2 separate regions of the Homo sapiens genome follow, and region 2 is linked to region 1. Evidence: promoter capture Hi-C in human tissues and cell types (Jung and others, 2019). All regions are on one chromosome and are shown on one strand. Each heading gives the region's core, a stretch centred on a gene start or on the middle of the fragment in contact. The rest is flanking DNA. Distances are from core to core; before and after follow the strand shown.

Evidence for each region. The method cuts DNA at HindIII sites, captures the fragments that hold promoters and counts their contacts. A contact is called where the count stands out against the background at its distance.
Region 2: a contact is called between a fragment that was not itself captured here and the fragment with the promoter of RBM39 in region 1, in 1 of the 25 tissues and cell types used here (heart right ventricle).

The regions. Positions count from the first base shown.
Region 1 is chr20:35,740,439-35,744,220 of GRCh38, reverse strand. RBM39 (RNA binding motif protein 39) reads left to right here and starts at 1,961. Exons shown (of 17, transcript NM_184234.3): 1 at 1,961-2,280; 2 at 3,334-3,397. The coding sequence starts at 3,347. RefSeq lists enhancers at 1,522-1,621, 1,792-2,011, 1,373-2,058, 2,072-2,221 and a silencer at 2,482-2,581. The HindIII fragment of the contact is 31,582 bases long and covers 1-3,782 here.
Region 2 is chr20:35,473,695-35,477,476 of GRCh38, reverse strand. CEP250 (centrosomal protein 250) reads right to left here. Exons shown (of 35, transcript NM_007186.6): 14 at 3,425-3,607; 15 at 1,831-1,975; 16 at 882-1,028. CEP250-AS1 (CEP250 antisense RNA 1) reads left to right here. Exons shown (of 3, transcript NR_184017.1): 3 at 802-3,782. Among named protein-coding and RNA genes, the nearest start is that of CEP250-AS1, 15 kb to the left of the region's middle. The HindIII fragment of the contact is 3,045 bases long and covers 214-3,258 here.

The DNA.
Region 1 (3,782 bases), core at 712-3,211:
TTCATTTTGCACTAGTCATAATACTGGAATTACCGAGGGGCAGGAAGAGATAGCAAAGGTTAGCTTGCTTTATTTCTGACATATTATGCTTCAATTTCCTGTGACAGTTTTCTTTTCTTTCTTTTTCTTTCTTTTTTTTTTGAGATGGAGTCTCGATCTCTGTCACCCAGGCTGGAGTGCAATGGCATGATCTCAGCTCACTGCAACCTCTGCCTCCCAGGTTCAAGTGATTCTCCTGCCTCAGCCTCCCGAGTAGCTGGGAATTGCAGGCGCCTGCCACCTAGTTTTTTTTTTATTTTTAGTAGAGACAGGGTTTCGCCATGTTGGTCAGGTCTTGAACTCCTGACCTCAGGCGGTCCACCCGCGTCGGCCTCCCAAAGTGCTGGGATTAGATGCATGAGCCACTGCGCCCAGCCTCCAGAGCGAGACTGTCTCAGAAATAAAATAAAAAGAGGATCTGAATTTTCAGAAAAAGGATTAAGGGAGTATTCTAACTACAAAATAACTGTTATTAATAATCCTCTAAGATAAATCCTAACCTGTGTGTAAAGTTAACCTGAGAGGCAAAACCACTTAACATCTATATTTGCTCTAAATAATTTTGTTTAGCAGAAACAGAAGTTAGCTGTTTTGAAGATCAAATATTTACCAGGCGTTTTACAGACATTATATCATTTAATCTTCACTATAGCCCTTCTGAGCCTTCATTCATTAATTTACTGAGGGTCCACTTGGGCAGACATGCCCTGCTAACCTCTAAAAATTCAGTACTGAGCATTACCTGCCTTCCTCAGTCTCAAGTAGCTTAGACTAGCTACTAAGTACGTCCTCTTTTAAATCAGGAAATGAAAGATCCCCTCTGAGAGGTTAATTTGCTTGTCCAAGGTCACACAGTGTTGCAGCAGCTAGTTACACTAATCAAGGCGTCTCATTTCCAATCTTTTCTGCCCTCAATCATTAGACTGTTAAGATTAGAGGGTAAGATTTTTGCTTTGAAGACTTCTTTCCAGTTTTTTTTCCCAGCATCTAGGAGGAAACCTCACACAGTACTGACCAAAGAACAAATGGCTAATTCATACTCTAATTACCTGGCATCTAGAAGACTTCAGGGGAGAGGAGCCAGGTCCCAGGGGGAAGGGGGCCTTTTTTTTTTTGTTGGGGGGGTGTCTTATTTTTTCACCAAATCGTCCAGTAATATTCAGGAAGGGGAACATTTTTGAAGGAACGGTAGCAACCCTGACACAAGAGCTGATTAAATTCGGGGCACAAAACTGATCCCATGCCAAGGGAAGCAAGAGTTTATTTTTTCCACCTTTTTTTTGCTTTTCTCCACTATTTCCAAGGTTGTTTCAAAGCTCGACAGTGGAGGCCGCGCCATTGGCTCCAAATGACAGGGAAATCTATTTTTATTATCTCCCCCTCTCCCCCTACCCCTAAAGATCTCTTCTTCTGGCCTTCTGATACACTTTTCCACTTCCTCTCCACCCTCAGCGGATAATCTGAATATGGCCGTTTTATCCTATCGCCATAAGGACTAGGTTGCCTTATGGCGACCTTGACAGCCATCTGTGTGGGAGGCCGGAGCGGGGGCGATCGGCTGTGCCGGAGGAATCTTCAGATGGCCGTGAGGAGGCGCCACGAGGGGGAGGTGACCGCTGAGCTCCACTCAGCGAAGAGCTCTCTGAAAGATTGACAGGCAGCCTACCAACTGTCTTTGCCCTAGAGACCCGCTCTGTCTCGCGAGATTTGGGTGCTTACGCGGAGGGGGAGTGAAAGGCGCCTCACTGAATGGGGGATGGGAATATCTGTGGCGCAATCATTGCGCGAGATTGGGCTACGGTCGCCGGAGCCATACTTAGGTCTCGCGATACTTCGGCCGCTCAAATTTGGAGCTTGGGGCAGCTTCTCGCGAGAGCCCGTGCTGAGGGCTCTGTGAGGCCCCGTGTGTTTGTGTGTGTGTATGTGTGCTGGTGAATGTGAGTACAGGGAAGCAGCGGCCGCCATTTCAGGGAGCTTGTCGACGCTGTCGCAGGGGTGGATCCTGAGCTGCCGAAGCCGCCGTCCTGCTCTCCCGCGTGGGCTTCTCTAATTCCATTGTTTTTTTTAGATTCTCTCGGGCCTAGCCGTCCTTGGAACCCGATATTCGGGCTGGGCGGTTCCGCGGCCTGGGCCTAGGGGCTTAACAGTAGCAACAGAAGCGGCGGCGGCGGCAGCAGCAGCAGCAGCAGCAGCAATCTCTTCCCGAACACGAGCACCACAGGCGCCCGAAGGCCGGAACAGGTACGGGGCGTTGCGGACCCGCGTATTATCTCAGCTTTCTCGAGGTTTGGCTCCATTTTGGGCTGAGGGGCGCTTTTGGAGGTCTTTAGCGACCGGGGTGGGGGGTGGTTTTCGAGAAATCGGCCCTGTTTCAGTGACCGCGCCCTTATTTTCCAGTCGGGTATAGTCTGGATTCTTGGGGCGGTAGGGACCCCCGAGAGGCCGCGGTAGAATGGTGACCTGTCTCCTTCGAGGCCTGGGCCGGCCGCGACCTCCCAACATGGCGCCAGTTGAACGCTGCCTTGGCTCATAACCCCTCCCAATGGAGGGAGTTTCTCTTTGCCCCTAAAATGGCAGCGCGGGTTTTTGCCCGGAAAGAGGCGCTCTCGTTCGGGTCTCCCAGTTTCTGTTTTTGGAGTTGACAGCAGAGTTTTAAATATTGGATATTGAAGTCTTCATTTTCGTGTGTTTCGTGTAAGAGGCGTTTTGGATTTACTTACGTAAGCCAAACCTGGTTAAAGTGCATGTCACTTTAGTCATTAATTGTAGGGCTTTTGGAGGTTTTTCTTAAGTTTTCGAGTGTGTCGGCTGAGAAGAAAAATTCAGTCGATTTGAAAAACGTTTACCAGGCCGGGCGCGGTGGCTCACGCCTGTAATCCCAGCAGTTTGGGAGGCAGAGGCAGGCGGATCACTTGAGGTTAGGAGTTCGAGACCAACCTCATCAACATGGTGAAACCCCGTCTCTACCAAAAATACAAAAATTAGCCGGGCGTGGTGGCAGGCGCCTGTGATCCCAGCTATTCGGGAGGTGAGGTGGTAGGATCGCTGGAACCTGGGAGGCGGAGCTTGCAGTGAGCCGAGATCGCGCTACTGCACTTCAGCCTGGGCAACTAGAGCGAAACTCCGTCTCAAAAAAAAAAAAAAAAAAAAAGAAAAATGTTTACTCACGGAATCGTCTTGTTCTTTTCCTAGGCGTTTAGAGAAAATGTTAGACGATATAGGCAACAAGAGTGAAACTTGTTTCACATTGTAAGAGAAATGTTTACTCAAGAAATTGTCTTGTTCTCTTCCTAGGCGTTTAGAGAAAATGGCAGACGATATTGATATTGAAGCAATGCTTGAGGCTCCTTACAAGAAGGTGAGAAAAAACATGTCGGTGAGGTTTATATATTTCTTAATTTAGCATTATTCACGAAACTACTGCTGAAATGTAAACTAACCTCCCCGGAGCCCTCTTGATTTATCTTATCAGAGATGCATTACGTGTAACTTACAAAAGTAAATATATGCTATTGATGTAATAATATTGTGCAGTAGTTTCACTTCAGCGTGATGAATAAATGCCCATCTATCTCTCTTTGTAGACTTGCCTAACGATATCTCACCTCTACTCCCATGAATTCACCTTTGATTCCAGTGTGAACTGTCAATCATAAGGTAGTAATTGAGTGACTTATCGCTGTACCGTGGTCCCCTAGGTAAAATGACTCAACTAAGAATTACCACCTCCAGTTTGGTATAGC
Region 2 (3,782 bases), core at 487-2,986, 270 kb after region 1:
CAGGATTAACAACCTAGACTTAGGCCGGGTATGGTGGCTCATGCCTGTAATCCCAGGACTTCAGGAGGCTGAGGTGGATGGATCACCTGAGGCCAGGAGTTCAAGATCAGCCTGGCCAACATGGTGAAACCCCATCTCTACTAAAAATACAAAAACTAGCCCAGGGCAGCCAAGTGTGGTGGCTCACGCCTGTAATCCTAGCACTTTGGGAGGCTGAGGCAGGTGGATCACCTGAGGTCAGGAGTTTGAGAACAGCCTGACCAACATTGTAAAACCCTGTCTCTATTAAAAATACAAAATTAGCCAGGCATGGTGGTGCATGCCTGTAATCCCAGATATTCAGGAGGCTGAGGCAAGAGAATTGCTTGAACCCGGGATGCAGAGGTTGCAGCGAGCCAAGATCGTGCCACTGTACTCCAGCCTGGGCAACAAGAGCAAAACTCCATCTCAAAAAAAAAAAATTAGCCAGGTGTGGTGACACATGCCTGTAATCCCAGCTACTCAGGAGGCTGAGGCAGGAGAATTGCTTGAACCCAGGAGATGAAAACTGCAGTTAGCTAAGATCGCACCACTGCACTCCAGCCTAGGTGACAGAGGGAGATCCATCTCAAGAAAACCCCAGCAAAAAACCTAGTCTTCCTTCCAGAGGACATGGGCCCCTTCCCAACCTTGGTGTCTTACCCTGAAGTCCAGAGGTGGTTCTGCTGGAGGTGTGGGAGGGGAATATTTATAATGGCTAAGCCCAATCCTTACAGTCTTTGCTCTCCTCTGCATTGTAAATGTTCCTTTTGCTCATTTCAGACCTACATTTGGGAGCTGATCCGTCTTGCTCTCAGTTAGGGCCCAGCCCTTCTGTGGGGACCAGGAAAATCTTTGCTCACCTGGAGAAGCTGCTGGTTCAGCCCAACTTTATCTAACGCCAAAGCCTCATTTAAGGCACTGAGCTTGACAGCTGCAGCCCGAAGATCAGCTACTTCTGTCTTCAGGGTGTTTTCAGAACTCGACAGCTCTGCAATTGACTGCTCTGCCTAAAAAACAAAAAGGATTAAAGAGTTTCATATTTCCAATTTTCCTGGAACAGTAAACAGTTCACATTCCCAACACTGCTGCTTTTTGGTACAGAGATCAGTTAATACTCCATTCCCTCTCCTGCATTCTAAACAAGTTTTCCCTTCATTCATTCATTAAGGAGTGAGACAGGACCTCACAGTATAGAGATACCAAAGTTAGGATAGAGAAATGACTATGATTGTAATGATGCCACAGAAAATGTAAGCACAAAGTGCTCTGGGAACTAAAAAAAATATTAATATAGTTTGGAAGAGTCAAATATGCTTGGTAGAGGAGTTGACGATTAAGTTGTGTACTGAGAGATGAGGAACAGTTTGCACATAAAGGAAGAGGAAAGAAGTAGTGCAGAGAAAGGGAAAAGTACACGCAGAGTATTAGAGTCATGAAGAACATGGAATAACTGAGAAGGCAATTACTGCTGTGGCAGGAGCAAAGGATATGAGGTGTTAGGATGGGTTTTGCAGTAGAAGGGGAGGCTAAAACACACTTTGAGGCACATGACAAAAAGCTTTGAATGTGGCACCACAGAGCTAGAAAGCCGTTGAATGGTTTTAAGAGACTGACATAACCAGGTATATACTTTAGAAAGCCCATTCTAATTCCAATATAGAGGGTATGTTGGAATAGAGAACCCAGAAGCAGACTAATGATTGAGGAAAGATGAGGGATCCTGGCTTGAAGGTGAAGAATGAGGCAGGCTGCATGGGAACACACTTTCGAAGCCGCCCACCCAGCAAGTGAGGAGAGGAGGCCACGCACCCTAGCCAGCGCTGCGGTCACTTCCGTTTGCTCTTGCCTCAGTAACTCCCCTTCCAGGTGACTTGACTCCAGGGCTTCCCGAAGAGTGATCAGTTCACTGAGTGATTCTGACTGTTTGGCTTCCAGGCCCATCAGCATCTCCTGACTAAGATGGGAAAGAGAGGGGTCTAGAGGAACTCTTAGGGATGGGCCATAACCCCAAAGGTAACAGGAATATAATCACCTTTGCTATGCAACAGAATGAGGATGGTCTATAAACACTGATAAGGAAAGATTTCTAAGACATGTCAAGTGAAAAAAATCAAGGTGCAGAACAGTATATACATGATACACTACCTTTTATGCAAGAAAGTGGGGGAAGAAAGAATATATGCCCGTATTTGCATGAAGGAGCACTGGCAAGATAAACAAGAAGTCAGCTAAAATGGTTGCCTAAAGGGGGAAGGGAAATGGGATGGAGAAAGCACAAATGAGAGTGAGACTTCTCTGTGTATCTTCTTAGCTCACTGAAGCCTCAAACTCCTGGGGGCTCATGTGATCCTCCCATCTCACCTTGCCATGGCTACAGGCACATGCCACCACATTCAGCTACAGCTAATTTTTTGTTGTTAGGGGTTGTCTGCCCTTCTCCTTGGTACAGGGAGATCATTCTTAGCACAAGTCATGACCCTTATGGCAGCCCTTCAAGCTTCCACTATTCATGCCTACCAGGTACAAGGAACTGGGGCACAGGAGAGGAGGGAAATACAGCAAAGATGAAGATATATCCCTGCTCCCAGTTATTAAAGACCTACCATATGCCAGGTTCTATGCTGGCGTTTTCCAAAACATTGCTCTCATCTTCCCAGCAACCCTTCAAGGTAAATATTATCATCATTCTACAAATAATCTGTCCATGTGACAGAGCCATAATTTAAACTAAGCTTCTGCCTAGCTCAAAGTCCTTGCTTTTTCTGTGACATCATATAGGGGAATTTACAGATTAGCTGGGGCCATTGATTCTGGATTTCCCTTTCTTGACCAGCTAGCACATTTCCCACTACTTCCCTGTATAAGTCTTACCCTTTAGCCAGCCCAGCCTACTCTGAACATGCCATGAACCTTCCTGCCGCCTTTTCTTTGCTAATCTGTTCCTTGAGCTCTTCTCCCACTCTCTGCTAACCAAATAGGTAAAGGCCCAGCTCAAAGTCTACTCTCTCCTCCATAAAGCATTTCCTAGTCTTCAATAATTAGCTGTCACTCCTGTGCTCCCAAAGGACTTGGTCTGAAACTCTATTTAACTCATACTTCATCCAGCCTCATGTCACAGTGAGTTGTCTGTCTTCTGGCAAGTTCCCTGAAATCAGGGCTTTTGTCTTATTCATTTCTGTATCCCCCTCAGTGTCTCATCCCATATGGGTGCTCAACTAAGACTTAACCAACCACGAACTTTCCATATTCATCTTTCTGCAAAGGAAGAAGCAGCAAGCTAATCTGAACCCACTGCATGCCAGACTTCTACATACTCTACTTTGTAACAGAGGGGAGTAGACGGGGAGGGTGTAGAATTGAAGAAAGACCAGGGCCCAGCGAGGAGGAGACTAGTCTCACTTACAGACGCTCCCTCTCCCGGACAGCCAGGTGCAGCTCCTCCTGCTGTTCCTCCTTCTGGCCCTGGGCAGAGTCCCCCTGCAGCTGAAGCTCCACATTTACCCTTCGCAGGCGCCATGCCTCCTGCTCTAGCACCTCCAGCTGCTGCCGCAGCTCTTCCCTGGCCTTCTGCAGCAGCTCTCGCTCCCTGGAAGAAGGGAATCAGAGATGAGCAGAGACCATAGGACCTAAAATTCTTTCTGGAAGCAGGCATCACAGGGCCAAGAGACCCTGTTTCAACATCCCATCTTCTGTTTCTAGTGCGAAACTTTTTTATCATCACAAAGACTCCAACCCCAAAAGCTTGTTCTGGAGAAACAAGT